Regions from separate parts of the Homo sapiens genome. Here all the other regions are linked to region 2. The links are contacts of gene promoters, found by promoter capture Hi-C in human tissues and cell types (Jung and others, 2019). All regions are on one chromosome and are shown on one strand. Each heading gives the region's core, a stretch centred on a gene start or on the middle of the fragment in contact. The rest is flanking DNA. Distances are from core to core; before and after follow the strand shown. Region 1 overlaps ANO2 (anoctamin 2). Region 2 holds the start of NTF3 (neurotrophin 3). Region 3 has its middle 18 kb from the start of KCNA5. Region 4 overlaps ANO2 (anoctamin 2).

Region 1 (2,700 bases), core at 173-2,672, 380 kb before region 2:
CATACAGAGTGCAGTTGGGACACAGGGGAGGAGGCAATTAATGTCCATGTGTATGTCTCTATATGTCTAAGTATCAATGTAAATCATTGCTCCCAGGAAACTTACGTATGTCAGGAGTGATCATCTCCAATTACAGATGGGCACAAAGAGGATACGTGACTTGCCCAGGGTTACATCTTGAGTCAGAAATGAGTCTAGAACTTGGGTACTCTTGCTCTAATCGTATTTCCAATACCTTTGGGATGCTACAGAGTAGGAGTGGAATTAGGCTGAGTCTTTAGAGTCTGTTAACTTCACAGTAGCCACTGAGGACTTACTAGCTTTGTAACAAGAGACATGTGACTGAACTCTACTTCTCAGCAGAGGAGAACCCAAAGGCCAGATTTCCAGTGGGTTGACTTCTGCCCATGAAGACCAAGTGCCCTCTAAGCTCTTTGGTGAACTTACCAATCTTATTTAGAAGATAAAAAAAAAATGAGGAATGTGATAACTCCATGAGGCCCCAAGATAATATGGAGGCCTGAGCCACAGGGTAAATTTAGATTTTATTGCCTTTCTTTCTGGCTTATAAGGGGTGGAAGAGAAGCATGAGTGACTAGAATCGGCTTATATTCCTCCAGAAGGTTGTTTCCTCATTAAAAAAAAAAAAGAGAGAGAGAGAAAGGGAGAACAGGACTGGATTTGGAATCGTAGGTGTTTTCATTGATCCTTCACCCTCAGATTATCTTTTGTATGGTCATTTCTTTTGCAACCAACTTACAAAGCTAATTCTCTTTCCCATTGTACCCAATTTAAATATTAGAAAATAGAAAAGATACTAAAGATAGTAATAACTTGGAAACACTCCTGTTTATCTAGTAATGTCTCTTTTTTCTTTGTAGACAATACGTTTTTATTGAATGCCTACTTTTACAAAGCTTTAACCTATATACAAGTAGTATGTAGTGATATATTTATATTCCTGCCTTGTTCCACAAAATTTCTGGGGTAGCTTACAAGAAAAACAATAAGACAGCATAGTATAAAAATAAATTGAAAAATAAGAACCAGAGAAAATAAATTAAAATAGAATGTCAAAACTAGGAGGAAGAAAATAGAACACATATGCAAACCATAATGTCTTCTAGTTTCTACAGTTGAACTGCAAATTTAACCTTGAACCAAAGTGAAAGGGGGAATATGGTCAGGGGTGTAGCTCTTGCTGCCTACAGCAATATCTTTCTGTACAGAAATCTTTCTAAAGTCTATCACACAATTTCCTGCTTGCTTATGTAGAACATGTCTACATATATTCTCCACATAAAGGCGTCTTATGTAGAACATGTCTACATATATTCTCCACATAAAGGCGTATGACAAATTTTCTGGATTATTCAAGATCATCATTAAGAACATAATGATTTTCATGTTCTCTCAAGAATTATCAAAGCATTATTAGGATTGTTTGCCCCACACTGCTCTGATTTCTTGAATTCTTGACTCTGGTAACCTCCCTCCCCGAGTTTTGCTATCTCAGTTTCACTTTGCAGTGTGGGAGATGGAAAAACAAGCTCATTAGAATTTTGGGTAAAGAGAGTGTAAAATGCATGGCAGGAGGTCTGAAGGATTCTGCTGTGGAAAAGGGACATCGCATTAGAAAGTAGGTTTTGTGAGATCTATTTTAGCTGCTCATTTATTTTTTTCTTGTTTCTGGGTTTTCTGTTGTGAGAGCTGAGATAACCAGATAAGAGGCCTCTGATAAATGAGGTGTTACTGTCACCAAAGTAATAAGGACTCCTTGCATGCTTGCAGTTGTATGTTTTTCAAAACACCTTAACGCTCATTATCTCATTTGATCCTTTAAACTGCCAGCAAAGTAGCTTCAGCAGATGTTAATTAACTTCACAACAGAGAGATTAACTGGCATACACACAGCTAGAACTTTGGAAATGGGTTTAGAACTTAGGTTTCTTGACTCTTTGTCATTGCTTTTTAACTAATTTAATTAGGAAATGGATAAAGTTATTGGAAAAAGTTTCCCAGAAGAGGTGGAAGCTGAGCCCTTCCCAGTATAACATCCATTCACTCATTCAACACGTATTTACTGAGCACTTACTATGTGACATTCATGTTGTGGACCTGGGGAATGGAGTAGTGAATCCAACAGACACAAATTCCTGCCCTTAAGGGGCTTACTTTCTAGTTACGGAAGACAGAAAATAAACCAAGAAGTAAATACAATGGATAGGATGTCGTGTAGGGATAAGGGTCAGGAGAAAGAATAGAGCAAATAAAGGAGATGAAAATGAAGTGGGAGTGGGAAGGTATTTTAAATAGAGTAGTCGGAGAAGGTCTTCCTGATGTAATATTTGAGGAAAACAGGGAGCAAGCCACATGGCTGTGAGAAGACAGATACATGCAAGGAAAGCAAATAACACAGAAGACATGGTGGTGGCAATTCCAGATAACCAGTTAGGGTCCCAATAGGAACAAATAGCACACCCCAATTAGGGTAATTCAAGGTGGGCATATGTATAGAGAAACCATTTACAAAGGGATTGGCAGGGAGTTGGGGAATGCCAGGGACGGCGTTGTAACCTGGAATTAACAATAGTAGAGCTCTTATCATCCCTAGACCTGCAGAAAGATAGAGAGGTCACTGCAACGTGGAATTGGGTAGAGGAGGTGACCTTGAGCAGGTGACTATTTAGGCAGAAGGCC
Region 2 (2,819 bases), core at 273-2,772:
CAGCCCCGACACCGTCGGACGCAAGGGTCTCAGTGCCGTGCATCTGAAGCGCAGACGACGAATGAACGCAGCAGCCAAACTCCCGCAAAGAAGCAGCGCCTCCTGGACGCGCACCCACTCCCGCGGAGAGCAACAAGCAGAATCCTACTCCCCCATCCCATGCCCTCGGCCCTCGCCCCTCCTGTCCCTAACCTTCAACTCCCAAGCGTCCCAAATTTCATCAGGAGCATCCACCACTGAGTAAAGCTCTGGGGCAATGGGACAGTTCGGTCCGTCGTGGGACCTTTAAACTCCGACCTGGCTGGCTGCGCGGGTGCCCAGGTCTCCCGGCCTCCCACGCCACCGCTCAAAGTCCGAGAACAGGCTGGACGATACCGCAAGGAGATCCCCTGGGATGGCCGGGCCCGGGTGCCCGCCGCTCCCCGGAGGGGTCCCAGATGTGCGGGCTGCGTACGGAGCTCCAACATCTGCGCAAAGGCCCAGGGTGGGGTGGCCACCGGGTGGGCGCTGGCCAAGAGGAGCCCGGGGCGCGAGGTCTTTTCTGAAAAAACCCTTTCGGGGAACTCCAACGCAGGTACGCGGCGCGTGGCAGTGAGTCCCAACTCCCAAAACTGGAACGCGAGGTTCCGGGTCCTGAGCTGCGCGTCCCCTCCCCCCAGCCCACGCCCGGGCCAGAGTGGTGCTGGGGCGAGCTGAGAATCAGGCTCAGCGGCCGGCAGAGTGCAGGGCGTGTGCAGGGGAGCTGCCGCGGCACCTCCCCGCCCGGAGTTCTGTCTGCCACCCCCTTTTGTTATAGGATGCGCTAGGAGCTTTCTCGGAGGAGCAGGCGGGTCGGTTGGGAGTGGTGGGTGGTTGATTCTGTTGAATCTCTTTCCTGCTCTTTCGTCGTCCCCATTTCCCCTCTTCTGCCCCCACCCTTTCCAATCCAGGTCCCTTAAACCTGATCACTTTCCCAGATTGAGGGAAGCTTCTTGGGCAGCCGAGGGACAAGAGGGGAGGAGGTGGAGAAGGGTGTCCGTGTCTGTGTGTGTGTGTGTGTGTGTGTGTGTGTGTGTGTGTGTGTGTGTGTGTGTAGCGGGGTGGCTGCGGTTGCGCTTCGGCCTGAGCAGATCCCAGCGCAAACTTTGGGGAAGACACAAGCCCGGGAAAGTGAGTGAGCGCGGCGCGATGGGGGTGGGGCGGGATGCGGATCTGGGGCCCCCCGCACCAGTCCACTGGAAAATCCCTCCCCACGTGGACCCCCATCCCCAAACCTGCCCACCCAAGGTGCCCGCCGCCTCCCCTTACCGTGGCAAAAGTAACCATGGCATCCGTGTGGCCGTTTCCAGGGACGTCGACATGAAGAGAAAGGTGGACGCGAGCTCGGTCATTCAAAGTCTCCCCCACCCCGCCGCAGCCACTACCCAGCAGGGGAAAAAGGAGAGGAAGAAAGAAAGGAGAGAGAAGAAAGTAGTTGCGCCGGGCTGCGTCGCGGGGCGGTGCGCGGAGCTGTTCGGAAGGGAGAGGAGCTTCAACTCTGAGTCCCGTGAACAGAATCTGCGCGGTTATAACCAGCCAACCCGGCCAGATGGCTCCGCGCTCAGCGCCTTAACCCCTTCCGCGCCGCGCCGCCCTCCCCCGCCGGCCCGCGCCGCGCCGCGCGCGCCCGCGCCCCAGAGCCCCCCCCCCGCCCTCACTTCGGGACCCGTGGCGGGGAAGGGGTCATTTCTCCTGGCCCCTCTTGAAAAACAAAACCAAACCAAACAACAACAGCAACAAAAACTTCCAAATCTGTAGTATTCTTCAGTAACCCCCACCCTTGAGTTCCCTTTTAGAGATCCAGGAAAAAACGAAACGTTAAATGTATCGTAACAGGTTACATGTTAGTGTCTTCAGCCTTTCTTAGTGGTTCTTTTTCTTGAAATTTTTCTTTTTGATCTTTTTTCTTTCAAGATTTTCTTTACAAGGCATCAGGGCCTTTTCCTGCCTTTTTCCTCAGGAGGATCAGGTCTGAGGCGTAAACTCCTCCTCCAAACCTTAGACCCTTCCAGCTCCAGATCTCTCCCCACCCCCTACCAAGCCCACCCGCCACTCCTCCCCCCACCCCACAGCACGAACACGCCCAAGGACAATCGCTCCCCGGCGAACTCCCCGCTCCCGGGGACCCGCACCCAGGACGCTGTGTCGGCGGTCAAGGGAGGTCAAGGTAGAGGGGCGTGGGGGCGGGTGGTCCGAGGGACTAGGGAGGGGCTGTGTGTGCGCGCGCGTGTTTGCGGGAGCTTGAGTGTGGAAGGGAGAGGGAGATGGATCGCAGCCTCCCATTTCACCCATCCTCCAACTTCTAAACCCCTTCCTTCCAAACTAGGATGGGGCCCTGCAGCTAATCACTCGCCCAGCACCCACCAGTCTGCACGCGGGGACAGCGCGAGAAGCAGGAAAGGCGAGCAACAAACAAACCTGTTCGTGGCGCCCCGAAAGTAATGACGCTCACTTCCCCACCGGTGGATACATTCGAGGAGAGGATAGGGGGAGGGGGTCAAAATCTCTTATTTGGAGATAATTTTAGCTGCCCGTTAGACCTCACTTGCTCCGAGCCGTTCTCTCTAAATTTACCAAGTTAAGTCATCTTGATTTCGCCCATTTGCCATCGAGAGAAGGGGGAAAAATACCACTTAGTGATCAACGAGAAATCGAGAGCCCGGAAGCAGAGTTTTGCCCACTTGCCCGCTTCCCGAGTCCTTGCGTGGTGGACCTCCGCTCCAAGCCCCTCATCCCTTCCTCCCTGCCACTTCAGCCGCTCCTCACATCATCTCCTGCCAGGACCTTTTGACTCACGCGCG
Region 3 (2,845 bases), core at 54-2,553, 370 kb after region 2:
GAGCCCAGGGGTTTGAGACCAGCCTGGGCAACATAATGAAACTGTCTCTACAAAAACAAAACAAAACAAAACCACACACTTAAAACAGTCTCTGGCAAATATAAATGCTCAATAAATATTAGGTAACTACAGTTTGCTTGCAGATTGTGGGTAACCAAGGGAGAAGTTTTAATTTTGTCTTTTGTAAAATAGAGGAAAGGTTCTATGCCTTACACTTATCCTAGGAGGCAACTTTGAGAGTTAAGACAAAAATAATTTTCTAACTGCAGTATAACTGTTAAGAAAAGTTTTGGCTATGCCTAGAGATAGTGACCTTATAACTAGAGACAATGAGCTTGTTGAAGGAATCAGGACATAAACCATGGAGACCTTTGGCAGTGGAGAACTGATCTTAAAGCATGTAGGACCAAAAGATATTAAGTGGACATCCCAATAGCAGTCTATTTTAGTGAGGAAAAAACTCCAGAGGTCTAGCATGTCACACTTGAGTCAGTTCATGGACTCAGAGCCTGTCCAAAGAAGAAGAGTTCAGGTGAAATACAACGGTTGGAAGAGGACAAACTTTGCAGCCAGAATGCCTAAGCTTCAATCCCAGGTAATTCATGACTTGCCATATAACTTGGGCAAGTTACTTAACCTCTCTGGGTTCCAGCTTATCTGTAACATGGGAATCATAATAGGACACCAGTTTTCCAGCGTTATTACAAGGGATGAATGTATAATAGTACATGGTAACACTGTGTATGTGTTAGGTATAATTAAAATGATTGAAAATTGTCACCTCTAGCCATGGAAAAGTGGCTATCCATTTTTCTTAAAAGGGAGATAATCTGAAATAAGAGCCTCTATAAAATAATAGAAAGTTGTCAATATTTTCACTCCTTAGTCAAGGACCTAGAAAGGCCAAAATTGTAAGGGTGGTGGCATGGATATTCAAGGAAGAGGTGTAAGGAGAAATCCTTCTGAAGGGGCGCAGAGTGTGTGAGTGCCACCATAAGGCCCCATAGGGAGCTGGAGCTTAGCACTCAGATCGACCAGATGACCCTCACTAGGATGTCATTCCGCCTCCTTCTTTGCTTTCCAAAAACCTACTGTACTAGGAGCAATTCTGCCTGCTGAGCTTAATCAGACAAGATTCATTAGTGCTTCCAATGAAGAGGTCCAACTAATAATGCAGACTCCCGAGACCCAGTAAGCTAGAAGATCTGGGGAGAGGGCCCAGTAAGCTTGATTTCTGGAAGCATCCCAAGTGATTTTTACACATCCTGAAATTTGAGAACACTGCCATTGTTGGACTCTGAGACCCCTTGCAACTCTGACAGTCTCTGATTCTGTGGTTGTCTGGTTGGATAAACTCCTGAGATCATCCCATGTTGTCAGATCCAATGGACACAGTTTCCAGAGGCTGAAGCCATCCCTCAGATGTGGAGATGACAGGACAGCAGATACCCCAGAGCCCTCGTCCCATCCCTCTCCCCATGCCCATACACACTCCCATCTGGCATAGGTGTATCACCTGGGTCTGGGGTCAAGGGAGCTGGCACCCTCTCTCCTGGTAAAAGTAACCTTTCCTTTTCCAGGAGCCCTAACTACCTCGTAGAGGGAAAAATATCATAACATCTCACTGCCCTTCACGAGCATGTGAATTTCCAGCAAAAGATAAGCATGGTATTACTGAATATGTGATTTGGGTCTCCCATTTAAAACAAGAGGCAACAACTTCCCTTCCTTCCCAGAATGGGACGGAGAAATAAATTATGACCTAAAACATCCAAGTTGTTTCTAGAATCACCATCAGCATTTATAGTAAGAGAGCAAAATATTTGTACCTCCCTGTGATGGCAGCACATTGGCAGGCTTCCTTCTGGCTATGAAAATGTGCTTGCTTGGATTTGCTGAGTGCTCCCAGGCAACCCTGGACATGGTCGTGGCCCCCTGGTGTAGAGGAGTCAGGCCACAGGCTAGCAGGAGCTGGATAGAGCACTCTGAAGGCCTATTTGTGGGGAACATCAGCAGCTGTGCGGAAATGGAGGTGAGCAGAGAGGAGGGGAAATCTTTCTCAGGCAGAGCAGCAGATGGGGGAGTGGGAGCCTCCTCCTGCCTCCACCACGACAAAACCTTATCTCTGGTTTCCCTGCCTCAGCTCTCCGACATGCCATTCTCACCAGTCTTCCTAAAATACCACTTTCATTATGTTAATTCCCCTCTGCTTTATTTTCCATTTTTTAGAGATGGGGTCTCCCTCTGTCACCCAGACTAGAGTACAGTCACCCTATCACAGCTCACTGCAGCCTTGATCTCCTGGGCACAAGAGATCCTCCCATCCCTTGCACTAGCTGGCACAACAGGTGCAAGCCACCATGCTTGACTAAGTTTTCTACTTTTTAGAGAGATAGGGTCTTGCTATGTTGCCCAGGTCAGTGTCAATCTTCTGGCCTCAAGCTATCCTCCTGCCCCAGCCTCCCAAAGCATTGGGATTACAGGCGTGAGCTACCACATCTGGCCTTAATTCTCATGAGAGCTCCACAGCTGTCTTCACCTAAAGTATAGCATCGGTTCAAAATTCCTCAGTTTGTTCAAAGCCTACCACAGCCTGCCTCAACTTGACTTCCCAAATTTGGCTCACAAAATTCCCACAAACAGTCTCACATGCTTGCCAACCTTCTGCTCAAGCAACAACAGCCCCTCCCTCTCTTCCCAGTGTGTTTCCCGTCTACTCCTCACCAGGCTTCTGCAGCTGTGATTTCTCCTTCCTGCTACCCAGCTCTACCCCCTCTGCCCAGGCCCCTCCTCTCCACCTATGCAAAAGCTTCATTGCTCTGCCTGGACAATCCACCAATACAGA
Region 4 (2,700 bases), core at 171-2,670, 280 kb before region 2:
TTCCTGTGTTGTCACAATGCCGATGACAATGTTGGCACCCAGGGTAGGGGGGATTTAGCATTGCCCTTAGCCACCTGCCAAAGTTCCTCCAAACAGGAACCATCACTTAGCCCTCTGCTTTCTGGAAGGGAATGTTTAAAGAACTTCGAGACCCACAGAGAACTTTAAACACTAAAGTTTATCTCATATCTATATACGTGGAGTAAAAATAATGTTAAAGAAGTAAAACAAGAATAAATGCATGTGGTTCATTCTTGTTAAATGACACCACTTTTGAACAACCCAGTTGTCTACACCAGAAACTTTGGAGCTGTTTTGAATTGCTCCTTTCCTCTTACTTGCCACACCCGACGAGCACCATGGCAGGGTTGAACCACTCACCATCTCTGGTATTTACCCCTTCCTGCTCATCCCCTGAGTTCAGGGCCTCATCACCACTTGCCTGGCCTACTTCAGTGACCCTCTAACTGGTCTCTCCTCCTTTGTCAGGCCCCCTTCCAGTCCATTCTCCACACTGTGTCAGAGGTATCCATCCAGAATGCAGATCTGATTATGTGACTCCCTTGATTAAAATCCTCTCATGCTCTCCAGAGTTTAGGAGATTATTTTCAAATTTCTTGGCTTTACCCACAAGGCTCTATGTGGCCCACCTCTCCAACTTCACCTCCCACTCCCTGACATGAGCCTCTTCTGCCGAACATTTCCCAGCTCCTGGCAGCTCTCTGAGCGTCTCTTGGTGTGTCATGCGTTGGTGGCTGTGCACATGCAAAAGCCTCTTTGCTTGGAACCTGCTTTCCCTCTCTCTATCCAGCACACTCCTTCTTGTCCTAGAAAACTTAGGGCTAATGACATCTGCTCTGGGAGGTCATCTCTCACTCTCTGGGCAGGCTTAGCTCTTGGCTCTTGTATTCATCTCCCATGGCTGCTGCAACAAGTGACTGCAAACGGGAGGGCTTAAAACAACACAAGTTCATTCTCTCATAGTTCTGGAGGCCAGAAGTCCAAGGTCAAGGTGTCATCAGGCCCACGTTCCCTCTGAAGTCTCTAGGAGAGAATCCATCTTTGCCTCTTCCAGCCCTTGGTGGCTCCAGGCATTTCTTAAATTGTGGCTAAACCACTCCAATCGCTGCTTCCATCTTTACATGGCTCTCTCCTGTATCTGTCTCTTCTCCCCTCTGTCACTTACAAGGACACTGGGAAGTAGACTCAGGGCCTACCCTAAATCCATGATGATCTCATCTTGAGATCCTTAACTTGGTTACATTTGCAAAGACTTTTTTTTTTTTTCCAAGTCAGGTCGTATTCACAGGTTCCTGGGGTTAGAACCCGGGCCTATCATTTAGTGGGTGGAGCACAATTCAACTGCTTACTACCCTGTAGCAACCTGTATATTCCTTTTAGGAGAAATTTTACTATAGATGTTTTAAAGCATTAATTGATACTCCTATCTTTCCTTCAAGATGAACTATCTTTGAGAGCTTCTGTTTGACCTTGTTTCTTTGGCTTCTAGCACAGGGCCTCACTGCAGCTCGGCACAACATTTTGGTTAAATGTAAGAAATAACTACCTAAGGGCCGTTAGTAGGTCCTTATCATTAACTTGGGCTGATATACGTGTGCTTGGAGATAGGATTTGGACACCATGACCTCTGAAAAGCCTGTTCAGTCAAGAAGTCTGTTTCTGCAGTTTTGTTTGCTTCAGAAGTACATTTTTAGGCTAATTGATTTCAAGGAATATCCAAAGGAGGGCCTTGGAATATTACAAATCATGGGGAGGAACCCAAACTCGTTAATCTACATTCTAGTCTGTATTGTCTAATGTATGATGATTGCGTGCACATTATTTTTAAAGTTCCCAAGTGGCTGAAAGGGAGCAGTTTCACATTTTTGAGCATGTACAGGCACTGTCTGGATTCCCCATATTTCAAATGAGAGCTTGGATTTCAAAAAGAGGAGCAGGTCTTGGGGAACTGGTCAGTAAATTAAAGTGTCTTACGTATATGAGACCTGCAATTTTTATTCTCTGGGCCTCTGTATGAATTAGTTTTGCATTGCCATACAGGAATATCTGAGACCGGGTAATTTATAAAGAAAAGAGATTCATGTGGCTTATGGTTCTGCAGGCTGTACAAGCATGGCACCAGCATCTGCTTGGCCGCTGGGGAGGCCTCAGGAAGCTTTCATGGTGGAAGGTGAAGAGGGAGCGGGCTTGTTACATGGCAAGAGAGGAAGCAAGAGAGGGCAGAGGGAGGTCCCAGTCTCTTTAACCAGCTCTCACATGAACTAATAGAGTGAGAACTTGCTGATCACCATGAGAATGGCACCAAGACATTCCTGAGGGATCTGCCCCTATGACTTATACACCTCCCACCAGGCTCTACCTCCAACATTAGGGATCAATTTTTTTTTTTTTTTTTGAGACAGAGTCTCGCTCTGTCGCCCAGGCTGGAGTACAGTGGCGCGATCTCTGCTCACTGCAAGCTCTGCCTCCCAGGTTCATGCCATTCTCCTGCCTCAGCCTCCTGAGTAGCTGGGACTACAGGCACATGCCACCACGCCCGGCTAATTTTTTGTATTTTTAGTAGAGACGGGGTTTCACCGTGTTAGCCAGGATGGTCTCGATCTCCTGACCTCGTGATCCCGCCTCGGCCTCCCAAAGTGCTGGGATTACAGGTGTGAGCCACCGCGCCCGGCCCAGGGA

What was found. Contacts are between HindIII fragments. The study calls those that stand out against the background at their distance.
Region 1: a fragment that was not itself captured here is called in contact with the fragment with the promoter of NTF3 in region 2 in 1 of the 25 tissues and cell types used here (aorta).
Region 3: a contact is called between a fragment that was not itself captured here and the fragment with the promoter of NTF3 in region 2, in 1 of the 25 tissues and cell types used here (bladder).
Region 4: a contact is called between a fragment that was not itself captured here and the fragment with the promoter of NTF3 in region 2, in 2 of the 25 tissues and cell types used here (H1 embryonic stem cells and mesendoderm cells).

What each region holds. Positions count from the first base shown.
Region 1 is chr12:5,814,100-5,816,799 of GRCh38, reverse strand. All of the region lies in intron 7 of ANO2 (anoctamin 2), which reads left to right. Among named protein-coding and RNA genes, the nearest start is that of ANO2, 130 kb to the left of the region's middle. The HindIII fragment of the contact is 5,930 bases long and covers 1-2,700 here.
Region 2 is chr12:5,430,811-5,433,629 of GRCh38, reverse strand. It overlaps NTF3 (neurotrophin 3), which reads right to left and starts at 1,522. Exons shown (of 2, transcript NM_001102654.2): 1 at 1,288-1,522. The coding sequence starts at 1,305. RefSeq lists an enhancer at 180-705. The HindIII fragment of the contact is 6,917 bases long and covers 1-2,819 here.
Region 3 is chr12:5,060,218-5,063,062 of GRCh38, reverse strand. No RefSeq gene overlaps it. Among named protein-coding and RNA genes, the nearest start is that of KCNA5, 18 kb to the right of the region's middle. The HindIII fragment of the contact is 3,669 bases long and covers 1-2,845 here.
Region 4 is chr12:5,710,874-5,713,573 of GRCh38, reverse strand. All of the region lies in intron 14 of ANO2 (anoctamin 2), which reads left to right. Among named protein-coding and RNA genes, the nearest start is that of ANO2, 230 kb to the left of the region's middle. The HindIII fragment of the contact is 3,942 bases long and covers 1-2,700 here.